Regions from separate parts of the Homo sapiens genome. Here region 2 is linked to region 1. The links are contacts of gene promoters, found by promoter capture Hi-C in blood cells and fetal thymus (Javierre and others, 2016). All regions are on one chromosome and are shown on one strand. The core of a region is centred on a gene start or on the middle of the fragment in contact, and the rest is flanking DNA. Distances in the headings are between cores, read along the strand shown. Region 1 holds the start of GPS2 (G protein pathway suppressor 2). Region 2 holds the start of CD68 (CD68 molecule).

Evidence for each region. The method cuts DNA at HindIII sites, captures the fragments that hold promoters and counts their contacts. A CHiCAGO score of 5 or more calls a contact.
Region 2: the fragment with the promoter of CD68 here is called in contact with the fragment with the promoter of GPS2 in region 1 in 7 of 17 cell types (naive CD4 T cells, total B cells, fetal thymus and 4 more); the score reaches 9.0 in naive CD4 T cells.

What each region holds. Positions count from the first base shown.
Region 1 is chr17:7,314,110-7,317,621 of GRCh38, forward strand. It overlaps GPS2 (G protein pathway suppressor 2), which reads right to left and starts at 1,251. Exons shown (of 11, transcript NM_004489.5): 1 at 1,222-1,251; 2 at 850-1,010; 3 at 379-488; 4 at 182-294; 5 at 1-50. The coding sequence starts at 943. NEURL4 (neuralized E3 ubiquitin protein ligase 4) reads right to left here. Exons shown (of 29, transcript NM_032442.3): 27 at 3,352-3,464; 28 at 3,096-3,261; 29 at 1,519-2,218. The coding sequence ends at 2,014. RefSeq lists a silencer at 864-1,193. The HindIII fragment of the contact is 7,056 bases long and covers 915-3,512 here.
Region 2 is chr17:7,578,370-7,581,881 of GRCh38, forward strand. It overlaps CD68 (CD68 molecule), which reads left to right and starts at 1,269. Exons shown (of 6, transcript NM_001251.3): 1 at 1,269-1,357; 2 at 1,441-1,958; 3 at 2,097-2,216; 4 at 2,342-2,414; 5 at 2,527-2,697; 6 at 3,009-3,512. The coding sequence starts at 1,309. The coding sequence ends at 3,142. EIF4A1 (eukaryotic translation initiation factor 4A1) reads left to right here. Exons shown (of 11, transcript NM_001416.4): 11 at 1-637. The coding sequence ends at 117. SENP3-EIF4A1 (SENP3-EIF4A1 readthrough (NMD candidate)) reads left to right here. Exons shown (of 22, transcript NR_037926.1): 22 at 1-637. RefSeq lists a silencer at 270-458 and enhancers at 1,934-1,993, 2,094-2,163. The HindIII fragment of the contact is 9,128 bases long and covers 1-3,512 here.

The DNA.
Region 1 (3,512 bases), core at 1-2,500:
GAACAGTCAGGCTCTGCTGGTATGCAGCTGATGTTAGGGTGGTCAGGTCACTGGAGTGAAAGGAAGACAGGTCAAAGTCAAGGACAGATGCCTTCTCTTTTGCCATTAAACACTGGTTCTTTTACTACCTGATCCCAGTTCCACTTGGCCCCCATTTCAGTTTTTAGCACTCTGATCCCACCTCTGTTCCTTTCGCCTCCGTTTTTCTTCCTCATGTAAAACTTTCTTGAGCTGCAGGAAAAGCTGGTGCTTCTCTTCCTGTAGAGCCAAAAGCTTCTCCTCCAACTTCAGAATCTGGGATGGGGTGGGAAAAGAAGATGAAGGCAGGGAGAGTCAAACGAAGAAATCAAAGCTGGGAAAGTTCAAGGGACTGCTTACTTGTTCCTTGGTCTCCTCTAATGACATTCTCTCTTCCATCTCCTTTTTCTTCCTTCTCTCCTGTTCTTCCTTCATCTTCTGTTCCATCATCTTATCCACCTCTTCTTCCTCTGGAGAATCAGGCAGAATGAAGAAGAGGCAGGGTAGTGAAAACAATTCCAACGTTACAGATTGAAGACCAGCAAAACCCAGTCATCCCAACACGCCTGTATGCTCTTTGCCTCGAGGGGACAAGCTCCCCATCGCGGCAATAGGGAACGGAAAGGCTTTATCAGGTGCTCTCCAAGGTCCTTCCCATCTCAAGGGTTCTGGAGCGTGGAACAGGACGCTTAAATCCCACCACAACGGGGCTATTCCTTCCCTCCTCTGCGCTCGGCAGCGGGCGCGCTGGTTGGCCGGTGGGTTGAGGCCAGCCTTGAGGTACAGGAGCCATTCTGGGCCGTGCGTCCCCCTGCTATGGCCCCGGCTCACCCTGCCGCTTGCGCTCCCGCTCCATCATAATGTGCCGGTGCAGCGCCCTGGCCATGGCGTTGGAAAGCTTGGGGCGCTCCAGGAGTGCGGGCATGGTGCTGCCGTGGGCGCTCGGGCCGTGGGCGCCCGGCTGTCTCTGACTGCCAGACCTCAGACGGGGCCTGCGGGGAGGCGGGCGCTCAGAGGGGGCCGCGCCCGGCCCAGGCGGAAGCCCGTCCGCCCGGCCCGCTCGCCGCCCCGGTCACGTGTCCCAGGAGCCCGCCACCCGGCCGGGACCGCAGCCCCAGTCCCACCGCGCGCGGGCGGCGCCGGGGTCCCCGGCTCGCTGCTGCCGCTCCCTGCCCAGCCAGCGCGGACGACTGCCCTTCCTACCCGCCTTCTCTGCGCTTTCTCAGCGGCTCCGACGCGCCCTGGCCCCTGCGTCACATCCGGCGGCCCGGCCGAGTCCTTCCGGAGTCACGGCGGCGGCCGACCTCACAGGTGAAAGAAGGCGGAAGCGCGCTGCGACGGGTGCCCGCGGCGTACAAACCCCGTCGCCGGGAACGTGAGCGACGACGGCTGCAGACTGGCCTTGGCATCCTCAGCTCTCTTTAATTTCGCGGGCCCACCTGGTGGCACCCCAGGGGACGCGGGCTCCGGAGAGGGGCGCGCGAGAGAGAGGCCGAGGCGGAGGCTCTGAGACGGTGTTTATTGGCTCCTTAGAAATCAGAGTCAGTAACAACTGTACAGAGGCCCCCATCTTCCGTGCGCCCACCCTTCCCCACTCCCGCCCGGTGGCCCCGGAAAAAGCAGCTTCATGTGGGCACAGGGAGAGACTCCTCTGGGATTCACAGTAACCAGAAACAAAAACGGAAATAAATTAAGTGATGTGGGGTAGGGGAGTAAAAGGGAGTCATGTTCCCCAAATCAGTGCATGAAGAGGGGTACCAGGGCCTGGAGCTGGGCTCCCACGACTCCTCCCATCAGACGGAGTGCTGGGCCTCCGGACATGGAGCTGTGCCACTTGCCACCTACATCTGAGAGCCTGCCTACATGCTCCTGCGCGGCTGCCAAGCTCCAGCACCTGCGCATGCCACGAGTCACGGGAATGAGGTGGAGGCAGTCGCCACTCAGAGTCCATGGGCCCGCGGCCCGACTGTGCTTGTAGTAGTGGTGTCTCACCCCTCATTCCACCCGTACCAGCAGGGCACAGAGGAGTGTGGCCCCCTTCTCCTTAGTGACCCACTCAAGTTCGGCTGGACTGAAGTGAGGGTCAGGAGGTTCTCCAAGGGCAGCGGAAGGGGGTCCCGGGGTGTAGGAGCCAGGGCGCACACACACCTGGAACGCCACCTGAGCCTGGTGCGTCCGCTGGGATTTGGGGTCCCGGAATCTGTCAGACAAGAAAAAATAAGGGAGTGAAGCCTCTCGCCCCATCACCTCCCCCTTGCAAAGTCTGTTCCAACCACACAAGCCTTGCTGTACCTAGGAAATACTCCCACCTTATGGGAACTTCGCTCTAGCTGTTCTACCTGAAATGCTCTTCCTCCCAAAGCCTGCTCAGCTACACCCTTCACTTCCTTCTTCAAGCCTTTGCTCGAATCTCTCCCACCTTCTTAGGATGTCCACACCAACCGCACTGCTGTCTCCGCCCCATTCTTTCTCTGTTTCCATAGTCCTTACTTATTACCTTTAAAAATACTAAATACTGGCGGGGCGCGGTGGCTCACGCCTGTCCCAGCCCTTTGGGAGGCCGAGGTGGGCGGATCACGAGGTCAGGAGATCGAGACCATCCTGGCCAACATGGCGAAACCCCGTCTCTACTAAAAATACAAAAATTATCCGGGCTTGGTGGTGCGTGCCTGTAGTCCCAGCTACTCAGGAGGCTGAGGCAGGAGAATCGCTTGAACCCAGGAGGTGGAGGTTGCAGTGAGATCACGCCACTGCACTCCAGCCTGGGTGACAGAGCAGGACTCCGTCTCAAAAAAAATAAAAATAAAAATAAATAAATAAATAATACTTATTACGTATGAACATTGTAGAGAGAAAAGGCAGAAGTTCCACAAGAGCAAGGTTCCTTTTTTTGCCCACTAGAAGAGTATATAAGTAGTATTTGTTCAATGAATGAAGAAAGGGCTGAGTTGGAGACTGGCAGCTAGCAAGACGAGATGAGAAAAGGGGAGGGCGAATCATGAAGACCCCAGTGGCTGCGCTTGGGCCCTCTCCATCCGAGCCCCTGGAAATCTCTCCCCACCCCTCCCAGTACTCACTGCACTTTGGAGGCCAGGGTCTCCGCCCCAGCATATTGAAGGGAGGGGGAAAGCAGCACAGGAGGGGGCTGCTCCTCCCGAGGAGGTGCACAGTTCTCGCCAGGCTCCTCGAACCCTACCCCAGGTTCTCCCTTCAAAGGACGGCAGCTCAGGATGGAGGCAGTACCTGGGAGGAGAACTGGGTCAGGATAGCCCTTTTTATTCCTCCACAGCCCCCCAGGCTCAGCCCACCTTGCATGGGCCTACTCGCCAGTACCTGCTCCCAGCTCCCCTCGGTCCAGCACTCTCCGTACAGCGGCAACATTGCTCCCGTGATATGCCATGTGCCACTTCTTGGTTAGTGTCCCAGCCTCCAGGCGGGGATTCACTCTAGGAGGTGGACAAGCGGGGCAGATACAACGAAGGCCACTGACTCCC
Region 2 (3,512 bases), core at 19-2,518, 260 kb after region 1:
AAAGGTGTGGCTATTAACATGGTGACAGAAGAAGACAAGAGGACTCTTCGAGACATTGAGACCTTCTACAACACCTCCATTGAGGAAATGCCCCTCAATGTTGCTGACCTCATCTGAGGGGCTGTCCTGCCACCCAGCCCCAGCCAGGGCTCAATCTCTGGGGGCTGAGGAGCAGCAGGAGGGGGGAGGGAAGGGAGCCAAGGGATGGACATCTTGTCATTTTTTTTCTTTGAATAAATGTCACTTTTTGAGGCAAAAGAAGGAACCGTGAACATTTTAGACACCCTTTTCTTTGGGGTAGGCTCTTGCCCCAGGCGCCGGCTCTTCTCCCAAAAAAAAAAAAAAAACACTAATCCATTTCCCTAACCTAGTAACCTCCAGATCCCAGAGGCTCTCCTCACCTCAGCTGAGCTCCTTTGAAAGTGATTCAAGGGACTATGTCACTCAGCCTCATTTGCTGGACCAAATCTGGAGGGAGAACCCCTAAAACCCCTAAGTGAGGTTGCCCAGGGGGTTGTCCCCAGGTGGGGGGAAGCAGGGGAGAGAAAATGGTAGCCATTTTTACATTGTTTTGTATAGTATTTATTGATTCAGGAAACAAACACAAAATTCTGAATAAAATGACTTGGAAACTGCCTGTTTGGGCTTCTCATTTCTTACCTCCCCTTCCCTCTCCCACCTGCTACTGGGTGCATCTCTGCTCCCCCCTTCCCCAGCAGATGGTTACCTTTGGGCTGTTGCTTTCTTGTCACCATCTGAGTTCTCAGACGCTGGAAAGCCATGTTCTCGGCTCTGTGAATGACAATGCTGACTGGAGTGCTGCCCCTCTGTAAAGGGCTGGGTGTGGATGGTCACAAGCCCCTCACATGCCTCAGCCAAGAGGAAGTAGTACAGGGGTCAGCCCAGAGGTCCAGGGGAAAGGAGTGGAAACCGATTTCCCCACCAAGGGAGGGGCCTGTACCTCAGCTGTTCCCATAGCTACTTGCCACAACTGCCAAGCAAGTTTCGCTGAGTTTGACACATGGATCCCTGTGGATCAACTGCCCTAGGACTCCGTTTGCACCCATGTGACACTGTTGACTTTGCCCTGATGAAGCAGGGCCAACAGTCCCCTAACTTAATTACAAAAACTAATGACTAAGAGAGAGGTGGCTAGAGCTGAGGCCCCTGAGTCAGGCTGTGGGTGGGATCATCTCCAGTACAGGAAGTGAGACTTTCATTTCCTCCTTTCCAAGAGAGGGCTGAGGGAGCAGGGTTGAGCAACTGGTGCAGACAGCCTAGCTGGACTTTGGGTGAGGCGGTTCAGCCATGAGGCTGGCTGTGCTTTTCTCGGGGGCCCTGCTGGGGCTACTGGCAGGTAAGGAGGAAGGAGGCTGAGGGGAGGGGGCCCCTGGGAGGGAGCCTGCCCTGGGTTGCTAACCATCTCCTCTCTGCCAAAAGCCCAGGGGACAGGGAATGACTGTCCTCACAAAAAATCAGCTACTTTGCTGCCATCCTTCACGGTGACACCCACGGTTACAGAGAGCACTGGAACAACCAGCCACAGGACTACCAAGAGCCACAAAACCACCACTCACAGGACAACCACCACAGGCACCACCAGCCACGGACCCACGACTGCCACTCACAACCCCACCACCACCAGCCATGGAAACGTCACAGTTCATCCAACAAGCAATAGCACTGCCACCAGCCAGGGACCCTCAACTGCCACTCACAGTCCTGCCACCACTAGTCATGGAAATGCCACGGTTCATCCAACAAGCAACAGCACTGCCACCAGCCCAGGATTCACCAGTTCTGCCCACCCAGAACCACCTCCACCCTCTCCGAGTCCTAGCCCAACCTCCAAGGAGACCATTGGAGACTACACGTGGACCAATGGTTCCCAGCCCTGTGTCCACCTCCAAGCCCAGATTCAGATTCGAGTCATGTACACAACCCAGGGTGGAGGAGAGGTAAAGCTAAAACTGGGGGATGAGAGGGGAGGGAGGCAGGACTGGATATAGGCTCAGAGGGAAGAAGGAAGAGGGGACAGGGAACCTTGGCCGGCATCGCATGCAGTCTTGTGACCTTCCAGTCTTTAACTTCCGCAGGCCTGGGGCATCTCTGTACTGAACCCCAACAAAACCAAGGTCCAGGGAAGCTGTGAGGGTGCCCATCCCCACCTGCTTCTCTCATTCCCCTATGGACACCTCAGCTTTGGATTCATGCAGGTATAGCCATGACCTCAGTCTCACCCCTCACTCAGCCTCCCGGCGCCCCTCCCCTCCCAATCCCACACGCTACTCCTTCCTCTGTGGAGAGGGATACCACCTGCGCCTTCCTCTTCGCCCCACAGGACCTCCAGCAGAAGGTTGTCTACCTGAGCTACATGGCGGTGGAGTACAATGTGTCCTTCCCCCACGCAGCACGTAAGTAACCTCCTTCCCTTTCTCATTGCTACCACTAGACGCCAGGGTTCCTGAAAGGACTAAGCTGGGGCCAGGGAGGTGGATAGGATCTGACCCTTCCTCACTCCTCCAGAGTGGACATTCTCGGCTCAGAATGCATCCCTTCGAGATCTCCAAGCACCCCTGGGGCAGAGCTTCAGTTGCAGCAACTCGAGCATCATTCTTTCACCAGCTGTCCACCTCGACCTGCTCTCCCTGAGGCTCCAGGCTGCTCAGCTGCCCCACACAGGGGTCTTTGGGCAAAGTAAGACCTACCTACTCCTTCCCTCCTAGAATCCTCCCACTGCACTGAAAACCCCTTCCCCAGGCCCATAAGCCACTCATCTCTCTTCTTAACCCCCCAAATCTCGCTCTCCCAGCTTGTCATGGCTACAGGGCAGCTTTCTTTCCATCCTCTACAAGACTCTGCCAGTTTCCCCCTTTTATCACTGCTGAGTCACTGCGGTGAGCTCCTCACCAATCTCCTACTCCCCAGCATCCCCCCATTCCCTCCTCCCACCTTTATCCCAACCAGCACGTCACTGCAAATACCTACCTGCCCTATCCTTCCGCCAGGTTTCTCCTGCCCCAGTGACCGGTCCATCTTGCTGCCTCTCATCATCGGCCTGATCCTTCTTGGCCTCCTCGCCCTGGTGCTTATTGCTTTCTGCATCATCCGGAGACGCCCATCCGCCTACCAGGCCCTCTGAGCATTTGCTTCAAACCCCAGGGCACTGAGGGGGTTGGGGTGTGGTGGGGGGGTACCCTTATTTCCTCGACACGCAACTGGCTCAAAGACAATGTTATTTTCCTTCCCTTTCTTGAAGAACAAAAAGAAAGCCGGGCATGACGGCTCATGCCTGTAATCCCAGCACTTTGGGAGGCTGAGGCAGGTGGATCACTGGAGGTCAGGAGTTTGAGACCAGCCTGGCCAACATGGTGAAACCCTGTCTCTACTAAAAATACAATTAGCCAGGTGTGGCGGCGTAATCCCAGCTGGCCTGTAATCCCAGCTACTTGGGAGGCTGAGGCAGAACTGCTTGAACCCAGGAGGTGGAGGTTGCAGTGAGCCGTCATCGC